Regions from separate parts of the Homo sapiens genome. Here regions 2 and 3 are each linked to region 1. Evidence: promoter capture Hi-C in human tissues and cell types (Jung and others, 2019). All regions are on one chromosome and are shown on one strand. Each heading gives the region's core, a stretch centred on a gene start or on the middle of the fragment in contact. The rest is flanking DNA. Distances are from core to core; before and after follow the strand shown.

Region 1 (3,327 bases), core at 510-3,009:
GGAGGGGACCCACTTCTCTATAGGAAGAATGTCAATGAATTTGTGGGCACATTTTAAAGTTACCACACACCCCAGGTGATTCCAATGTACAGGCAGCGTTGAGAACAACTGGATTCATTTTTTTTTTTTGTAAGCACCCATCTACAAAGGAGCAGTGGGACTTGGGTGAAGTGAACAAGACACCTAGGGTGCAAAATTTAAGAAAATCATTCTCAGGATCATGCAAGCACAGGATAGAGATTGAGAGCAAGTGCCTCCTTACATTCTGTGCTCAAGTGGCCCCACTTGCCACACCCTAGTCCTGAGCCTACTACATAGCAACTGTGTATGAATCATTAGGGTGAGGGGGACTTGGATTTCTGGACTAGACAGTACTTTAGTATTGGGATTTGGAAAGCCCAGGTAGGATCTGGGATTCTGTATGTTTATAGGAATCCCCAGTGGACTACTTCCAGCTTCCACGTGCTTTCCTGGTGCCATGCTTTGCTTACGCTGTTCCTTCTGCCTGGAAGTGTTTTCCTTCTATTTCTATCAAGCATGGAGTATCCACTGATTTTTAAGGTCCATTTCATATACCGCTTCTTTCATCAAGCTTTTATTGGTCCCCCCAGCCAGAGTGTAACCTGTCTCTCCTGAGAAACCCCTAGCATGTTTTACATGCCTTTAAGACACTCACATGTTGATCAGCATTTTGGTTGTGTGTGGGCCTGTCTTATAGGAAGAATATGTTTACTTTTCTCCAAAGGCCACAAAATGGAGATCTGGATCCTCCTCACCCGTTCTCACTGGTAGAGGCAGAGTCTTGTTTAGACAAGGTTCCCTCTTTTTTGCCTTATCTCGCTCCCAGATAGCTCAAGTTTGTAACCAACACATACACATTTTAGATGCCCAATAAACTGGATCTCTCTCCTGATGAAAGGTGTGGTCAGTTTCCTATTTTTACAGCCTTCGCAGAAGCCGTCAAATATTGAATAATTACCCTGGTTTAAATGCTTAAACACAGATAAGGACTTCGTCTTGTGACTTTGGGAAACTTCATATTTGAACATTACCTAACAATCCTTGCCCCATAGCAAACGTTTCGAAGCCTACTCTAGGCAGAGTTCATAGCACCGCCTTTGTCAGCAGCACTGCCATAGGTAAGCCTCAGAACCCTCTGGGGTGAGACCGGTGTAACCATTTTACTGATGAGGAAAAGTGAGGCTTACAGGTTAAGTCCTTCGAGCGCAAGATAACACCGAATGGCTTAATCCCTACACCAAACCAGCTGCTCCTCGATTGCTGGTATTCGTGAACCCTGCCCCCGCCTTTGGGGAAGGTCGGGCAGACAGGCCACTGGGACCAAAAGCAGAGTAGGTAGAACCTCTCTGAGTTCCTCCCTATTTATGGCATCCACTCAGGTGAGGCTGGGGGCGTCCTTACCTTGCGCTTTGGCTGCTCAGGACAAACGCCCTGCCATTCGTCCCTTCTCTCTGTCCGGACGCCCTCCTCCATCCCTGCACTTGGGGCCGTCGTGGGGCTGGTAGGGGTCCCCAGGCTATCTCCAGCCGTGGCCGATGGCCGTGCCGGGGGCAGAGCCCGCTCCCCTCCGCGCGTTGCTACGTGCGGGGATGACATGGATCCAGACGCCGTCAACTACGGGAAGGAGGAGGCGAGAGTTGGAGCGCGTGGGAGCGCAGAGGCCGGAGGAGGGAGGGGGGGACACCGAGCGCGGAGAGCGCGGAGAGCGCGGAGGGAGGCGCGCGCGGGAGCGAACACCCTCCCGGATCCAGAGCCCGGCGGCGGCGAAGCAGCAGCTGCGGCCGCGCCCTTGCCAGAGCCGGTGCGTCCGCCTAGCCCCGCTCCGCCTGAGGCCGTCAGGGCTCCCGAGGATGGAAGATTCCCAGGAGACATCGCCGTCCTCCAACAACTCCTCGGAGGAGCTCAGCTCTGCTCTGCACCTGTCCAAGGGCATGTCGATCTTCCTCGACGTAAGTACAGATGGTGGGAGCTGGGCGGTTGCTTCCCAGCACCTTTCTTTTCCCCGAAAGGAAGGGGTTCGGCTCAGGTGCTGACCAGCCAATGCTTTGTCCCCAGAACACAGGCGAGAACTACCGATGCAAATGCAGGAGGAACGACTGTCCCTTAACTTGCAGCTAGGGCTGTCCCAGACCTGCAGCTTGTGGCTTAACACCCTTAAGAAAACTGCAAAAGTTAGATTTTCCAACAGGCTGGGTTTCGTAGAGACACTATTGCAAATACAACAGACAACATTTGAGTGCATAGGACATTTTAAAGAGGCACAAGGTGTGGGGGGTGAGGTGGGGACAGTGTCCCAACTCATCTCTCTAACGCGCCCTATTCGCAGCCTTCACACTCGTGGATGCTCTCAAGCAACCCAGCCAGGGAAGCAGCAGCGATTGAGATGCCCTCGTTATCCTCCCCCAGACCCCCTCGGAAAACAATTACTTTGAGCATATTTGTTTTTCTTTTTACAGCGGTGGGAAATATCATTTTCATAATGATTCTTTTTGTCACTGCCACCTCTTCTATTTTCCCTTTTTCTTCCCTGATATTCTCCTTCTCTCCAAGTTCTAATTACTACTGTCACCTCCATGAATTCTAGCTTTTGACTATTTTCCCTTTGGTCCAATTTCTCACTTCGGTATCGACTGCCTGCCTTCATTACTCTGATCTGATTACATCCTTTCTTTTCCTTCTGTGCTGTTTCTTTTTCCCGTATGGTGTGGTTTCTATCTTTACAGCACTTTTATTTCTTATTTATTTCTCAATTTTGTTTTCCTCTCCTGCCTGCTGTTTCTGTTTTCTCTATTTTTCCGTCTGTTGCCTATCTCTTCTCTCTGCTTTGGGGTTTCTCTCAGCTGCTTGCCGGGCTCCAGGCTCTCCCAGCCCCTCAGTTGTCACATTCATGCTGTTGCCGGAGGTCGTGTCTATCTCAGTGGGGACAATTCTGTCTGCTTCTTGTTTAGGCATGATAGAAAATGTCAAAGGACATGGAGGAGTGCTACGTGCTCTGTCCTTTACCCTTCTCTGAGTTATCTTTTCTTATTAAAGTCAAAATGAGTGGGAGATGGGCCAGAAGCCAGATACATTTGTTTGTGGAGAGATGAAAATATGAGGAAATCAATTAGTATCATAATGGTGAGGCAGAGATAAAGAGGATAGGAGGATGTGAGGCGCTCTCCCAAGTTTATTTTGAATGGATTGGCTAGAATTCTTTTTAATTCTAGGGAAAGAAACTCCTATCAATAATTCAAACTGTTGTAAGGCAAATGATAGAAGTGAGGTTCAACTGTGTGTACTGGCAGCCTTCACCCTTTATCACCT
Region 2 (3,327 bases), core at 580-3,079, 100 kb after region 1:
TTAATTATAGTCAACATCAACTATTCTCATGGTTGGATTTTTTTCTTCAGTTCATTATGTTGAATTTGCCTTTTAAATGATTTTACCTATGACACATCTTTAGTTCATGATCTGCTCTGACATTTTGAGAGCTGTAACCAAGATTATAATGTGGCAGGACATGATAGGCATAGGTGAGTAATATTTTTAGAATTTCTTAGAAACAGAGGCTGATTTTCATGCTGATAACCTAAAAAGCAAGGAGGAGAAATAGACACATATAGCATAAATATCATATAAAGTGGACAAATAACATATTTAATTGTATATTTCTAACAGTTCCAGACACATTTTTTCTCACATAAATATTTTTAATAATGGTTATGCTAAACAGAGACCAATTCTTCCTTAATATATAAGGAAATACATGATATTAGAAGAATAAAACTATTTTCACTTCCTTGTTAATTCTGCCTTTGAGTTCTGCATAGGTCATTTATATACATTAAAATATGGAAAACTACCTCTCACTCCCCAAACTATACAAATCAGAATATGTGGGATAAATGGAGAGATGTCTCCAGAAATAACAATTTCATACTTAGGAAAAACTTGATATGATTCCTAGCTCTGCTACTTGCTAGCATATGCCCAAGTTAATCTTTTTGCCTTCATTTCTTTCATTGTCAGATGTTGGGAGGATAAAATGATATAATGCATGTAGGGGGTCTAGTACTGCAAGTGGCCCATAATAGGCACAATATAGGCATAATAGTCATGGGACTAGTTATCTTTCTACTTCCAAGGTCATTCTCAAGTTTCATACTTTGTTATTGGAAACAATTGCTAAACATGTGGCTTGGTGCTTTATATGGATATGATGGATTCTTTCTTACAACAACAACCAAAATATTTTATTTCTATAAGGTAGAGGGGAGAATTCAACAGAGCAGCTAACTAATAATCTAAGTAAAAATTTGGAATGTTGACCCTTCAGAGAAAATTTTAACCTTAAGTCAGAATTTTACATGCTGATTTTTTTAGATAAACAGATAATAAGTGTAAGTGCTTCATGAGACTTCCCTTCATTTTAAGGATATACATTTCAGCTGATCTATGACAACCAAATCAATAGTTTAATGAAGCACAGGGGCTTGTTTCTGGGAGAACTTCAGTCTGGTGAATGCATAGAGATGCATGTATTTCCCTGAGTGATTGACTAAGCTGCTGCTTATGGGAACAGACACATATGATTGCATAGAGGCACAAATGTCTGTTAAGAAAATTATCAAAAGTAAACAGAAATTAATTCATAAAAATATAAAGGAACAACTAAAAGGGAAGCACAGCACCTAGTCAGCCATCTCCTTGTTAATATGATGAAAACAGATCATCTGCAGTGACAGAACATATACTCCTACAACACTCTTGGAAGCACAAAGGAGGTATGTGAGACCTAGCTACCAAAACTATAAATAACTCCAGGAGCAGAACTCAGTGTCTCTGAATCCCAGAGAAAGAAAACAGAAAAAGTAGTCTCAACACTGAGGAAGCATAGGAATCTTTTGAAAAGCAAAAAAGAAACAAACCAAAGGCATGTATGTACAGAGCAGGTGCCACCTCAAATCCAGTTTAATAGACACAAAAAGCACCTACTGTGTTCAGAGTGTTGCCATGTGCTAGTAATCAAAAGGAATATAATAGGAAACAAAAATTAGCCTTTGCTCTCCAATCAAATAATATAATAACAGCATTTTCTACTGTCTTGATCATTTTGTTGCAGGTTTATTTTTCAGCAGATAGAAAAAGTGATTATGTATTTGATAAAGAGAAACAGATTAGGAAATTCTGTGAAGCCCCCTTCCTTGCCCCATGAAGTTAAATGAAAATTAGTCAGATTTGTGGCCTCTTCAAAGAGAGGAGTGCTGAGTGGAACTGGCCTGTGGCCATAGAGGAAGTATTCCATAGAGAAGTATTCTGTACAATAGATCTGTGGCAGTAGCTGAAAGGGACTGTTTTCCTTCCTTTAATTGTAACTTTCTACTCCCTTTTATGTTTTCTCATGTAAATCAGAGGCACAATTAAAGCTCAACGAGCTGATGTCAGTAGGAGAATAATTTTTTCAAGTTACTCATTTTAGACCAAGTTTTGTGCAAAGTCTGTATTTTATGCAGCCTAAGAGACATTCTGCAGATGAGTCTTAAGAATTTACCTCACACCCGTAATAGGTATACTTATTCTTGTCGGGTGCTGTGTCATACCATGCATCCGTAAGTCGATGCAGAGGTTCATAAAAACGGCACTTACTAAAACCTCCCTTAGCTATCCTCCACCTTATCCAGAGAAGCTTCTTCTTTTGGAAAATCAAGCAAAACAACTAAGCTAAGACATGTTTAAAAAGTTTGAAAAGAAAGCTGTAAGGAAATACAAGAGGAAGAGTTGTTAGGTATGAGTTCTAAATTTCTTTTCAAAGAATTAATATGTCGGCCGGGCGAGGTGGTTCACGCCTGTAATCCCAGCACTTTGGGAGGCCGAGGCAGGCGGATCACAAGGTCAGGAGATCGAGACCATCCTGGCTAACATGGTGAAACCCCGTCTCTACTAAAAATACAAAAAAATTAGCCGGGCGTGGTGGCGGGTGCCTGTAGTCCCAGCTACTCAGGAGGCTGAGGCAGAAGAATGGCGGGAACCCGGGAGGCGGAGCTTGCAGTGAACCGAGATCGTGCCACTGCACTCCAGCCTGGGCGACAGAGCGAGACTCCGTCTCAAAAAAAAACAAAAACAAAAACAAAAACAAAAAAAACAAACAAACTAATACGTCAGTATGTTCAATTCTCTGCCTTCTACTTTTAAACTTAACTTCCTCGTAAAGCAATCTTTTTCGATTATCTACTCCACCCTGACTCATCCTGATTACCTACTCCACCCTGACTCATTCCGATTACCTACTCCACTCTAACTCATTCGGATCACCTGCTCCACCCTAACTCATTCTGATTACCTGCTACCTGCTCTGCCCTGACTCCCGCCAAAGCACTCACCACTTCATTCTCTTTAAATTAGCCAATTAGAATTAGTTTAGCCTGTGAGGTCTAACCCTAGCCAATAGGGGAACGACACAGCAGCAGGGGTGACGTGCGTCAGGGATAAGAACCCCTTGCCCTCCCTTCTCCAAGTGTGCACTCCATTGTTCCTTCTATATAGAAGTACCTTGCTTTGCTGAGAAAAAGAAAATTTAAAAAAAATAATTAAAAAAAAGAATTTAGCAGGTAGAAAGCAGCAATAAAATTTTCTTCTTCAATTACAAGCCAAATTATTGGCAACTCTTCCTCTTCGGTTCCCACAATC
Region 3 (3,327 bases), core at 413-2,912, 84 kb after region 1:
ATATATATGTGTACGTGTTGTTGTTTTTTCCAACAGTGAGATTATACTATATGATTAGTGCAGTTGCATCCCCTTTTCCTTCATTTTATTTAAAGGCTGCATAGTGTCTCATGAACCTTAATTTTTTTCAATCAAGTTCCTTTTAATGGATTTTCAATTTGAATCCAACCTTCCATGGGAAAAACAGGATTGAAATAAATATTCTCATATACATTATTCTCACACTCACGTTCAAGTAATTCTGAATTCTGAATGGTAGATTCCCAAACATGTAATTCCTCAATCAAGGCTTCTCTAAGGTGCACACCCACCAGCAGTTTATAGAAGTGCCAAAATTATCCACTCTTCACATACAATTGTGAAGGCCTTCCTAAATGCATTTTTTTTTTGCCGTATCTTATCACGATCAGTCAATACATAACTCAGTTTTAATTAGGCAATTGTGTTTGAACTCTGGCATTAAAGCTTTGATTTTGTATTTCTACCATAATTAGCTATAATCTAAAGCTTCAGGAGTATAATTACTACCTTTCCTGGCCCTACCCTGTTTATGACTGTTTTCATAACCTTACTCATTTTTACTGAACCGTTTTGCAGATCTTGAAGTTGGTAGTTAAGAATAGATAGTTGAGGCCGGGCGCGGTGGCTCACGCCTGTAATCCCAGCACTTTGGGAGGCCGAGGCGGGTGGATCATGAGGTCAGGAGATCGAGACCATCCTGGCTAACAAGGTGAAACCCCGTCTCTACTAAAAATACAAAAAATTAGCCGGGCGCGGTGGCGGGCGCCTGTAGTCCCAGCTACTCGGGAGGCTGAGACAGGAGAATGGTGTGAACCCGGGAAGCGGAGCTTGCAGTGAGCCGAGATTGCGCCACTGCAGTCCGCAGTCCGGCCTGGGCGACAGAGCGAGACTCCGTCTCAAAAAAAAAAAAAAAAAAAAAAAAAAAAGAATAGGTAGTTGAAATATTTACAGATGAGCGAAGAATAATTGCAATGAATGTGCTTGATCTGAAAGCCTTTCTGTAAGAAAGCTTTGTGAGGAAGGTTGAATATATTTAATAGTGTAATTTCTCATCTAGTCGGGTGTTATCTACAAAATATTAAACTATTTTAAAAGTTATATGAAGTCTATAAATAAGATGGATAAAAACTGAGGGTACGGGGGCCGGGCGCGGTGGCTCACGCCTGTAATCCCAGCACTTTGGGAGGCTGAGGCGGGTGGATCACGAGATCAGGAGATCAAGACCACGGTGAAACCCCATCTCTACTAAAAATACAAAAAAAAAAAAAAAAATTACCGGGCGTGGTGGCAGGCGCCTGTAGTCCCAGCTACTCTGGAGGCTGAGGCAGGAGAATGGCGTGAACCCGGGAGGCGGAGCTTGCAGTGAGCTGAGATCAGGCCACTGCACTCCAGCCTGGGCGACAGAGCAAGACTCTGTCTCAAAAAATAATAATAATAAATAAAGTAAAGTAAAATAAAATAACTGAGCGTACGGGAAACTCCAGAATAAAAGCTTATTCCCTTCATACCCAAGGTTCCTTTCGGTAGCTGTGCACTAAGCACCCAGGCTGCAGAGATTGGCAGAGCCTGGACAGTGCTCAGAGACCTGTGCCAGCAAGTCTGAGTGCTAGGAAATCAGAAGGCTCTATGCCCTCCTCCAGACTGCTGTGTCCTCCTCCAGTGGCACATGTCACTGATGATTGAGATGTAAGAGAGTTTGCGTGTCGCTTATCTGCATCCCCTCAAAATAGCCCACATTTCTAGATCTGACTGACCTCCCTATTCAGAACATGCGGGTTTTAACACTCTCTCTCATCTCAATTACTTTCTTTTCTACCTAGTCTACTACTTGAGAAAGTCTAACTGCTTGAGAAGTTTAGATGAGAGTCATCTAAACTCATGAGAATACTTTGTAAGACCAGTTTCCACTGAGACTTTTGTGGCAGCTGTGGGTCCTTTGCTTCTGACAGAATTATTAAGCTGACCTGAAAACTCAACAACTTGAAAGACTAAGGTGCAGGATAGAAAAACAGAACAAAACTGTAGTTTGGTAATGCAACACCACTGATTAAGTACAGAAAGGCAGGTAGAAACTAATTTTTTGTTAGCATTTTAGTAGAGAAGATGGCACACTGGATATCCATGAGAATATAGCCTGCTTCCTGACAGATAACAGGCTTACTACATCTGCTTATAAACTGTGCTCTACTTTTTCATCATACCTAATATTCAGACTCTACTTTTCAATGATACTTCATTTAAACTGATGAGAATTGGTTTTCACACATTTCCATAAGTGCAATATGACTCTGTTTTGCTCAAGTTCATGAAACCCACATACAGGTTTCAACAAAATAGGTCTTTTCTTCAGGAAGTTCTTCTAGTTACCAAAGGAAAGCATTTTAAGGAATCAATATTTGTTCCAAGTCATTCTTTCTAATGCCATGACTTAAGGACAATATACATTTGCCCTACTCACACTGGTATTGTGATTCAAATGAGAAACATCAGTCACAAACATGAGAAACTTGGAATAAAACTTTAGTCCAAGCTCAGCCACTTCCAAATATGTCACTGTCCTTCCCTCCTGCCTACCACATCTTGGAGTTTGCAGATCTGCTGAAATTCTGGACTCCACCGCTCATTCCACTTCAAAGCTTTGGCATGGCTCATAGTCCTAGTTGTGTGATGAAATCCCTCCTGGCAGTTGATACCTCCCTTCTCTCTTGATGGTGTCACCAACATTCCCAAATCATCCTTAGTGCATCCCTTCCTTTTCTGATAGGAGAATTTGAGGATGTCACTCTCCTTTCCATGGCTTCCCATTGCCCATAGTGGTCTCGAATTTACTCTGCATCATAATCTCCTAGGGAACCTCGCCCTCAACCCAAAGATTGTGATTTACTAGATGAGACCTTCTCAGTTATCTTCATGTCTAACAAGTACCCTAGAGTAGTGTTTCTCAAACTTAAATAAGCCTACAAATCACCTGGGGGTCTTATTAAAATGCAGAATGTGATTCAACAGGACTGGAAGTGGGCCTGAGACACTGAGTTCTAACAAGCTCCTAGGTGAAACTAATGCTGCTGGTCCACAAAACAAACTTTGGACAGTGAAGTACTAGAGGATTCTGATGCAGGTGGTCAAAAACACTTACCTAGACTTGAGGATCAAAGAGCATCTGGCAAGGACTGTTTCCAACACATACAGCTTTATCTCCCAACACTGACTTTTAGGATTTGTTTCCTTGCTGCCTCCCATTCTCAAATATGTTCCAGCCCTGTTCTTTATGTCTTGGCAGTGCTGAACTACACATACTCCTGCAAA

The links. The method cuts DNA at HindIII sites, captures the fragments that hold promoters and counts their contacts. A contact is called where the count stands out against the background at its distance.
Region 2: a fragment that was not itself captured here is called in contact with the fragment with the promoter of NECAB1 in region 1 in 2 of the 25 tissues and cell types used here (dorsolateral prefrontal cortex and hippocampus).
Region 3: a fragment that was not itself captured here is called in contact with the fragment with the promoter of NECAB1 in region 1 in 3 of the 25 tissues and cell types used here (bladder, dorsolateral prefrontal cortex and hippocampus).

The regions. Positions count from the first base shown.
Region 1 is chr8:90,790,016-90,793,342 of GRCh38, forward strand. NECAB1 (N-terminal EF-hand calcium binding protein 1) reads left to right here and starts at 1,760. Exons shown (of 13, transcript NM_022351.5): 1 at 1,760-1,970. The coding sequence starts at 1,872. It overlaps LOC105375633 (a long non-coding RNA gene), which reads right to left and starts at 2,153. Exons shown (of 4, transcript XR_928389.4): 1 at 1,423-2,153. The HindIII fragment of the contact is 16,269 bases long and covers 1-3,327 here.
Region 2 is chr8:90,893,859-90,897,185 of GRCh38, forward strand. All of the region lies in intron 5 of NECAB1 (N-terminal EF-hand calcium binding protein 1), which reads left to right. The region is part of intron 1 of LOC105375634 (a long non-coding RNA gene); the gene reads right to left. Among named protein-coding and RNA genes, the nearest start is that of C8orf88, 90 kb to the right of the region's middle. The HindIII fragment of the contact is 3,887 bases long and covers 1-3,327 here.
Region 3 is chr8:90,874,569-90,877,895 of GRCh38, forward strand. The region is part of intron 4 of NECAB1 (N-terminal EF-hand calcium binding protein 1); the gene reads left to right. The region is part of intron 2 of LOC105375634 (a long non-coding RNA gene); the gene reads right to left. Among named protein-coding and RNA genes, the nearest start is that of NECAB1, 84 kb to the left of the region's middle. The HindIII fragment of the contact is 3,506 bases long and covers 1-3,327 here.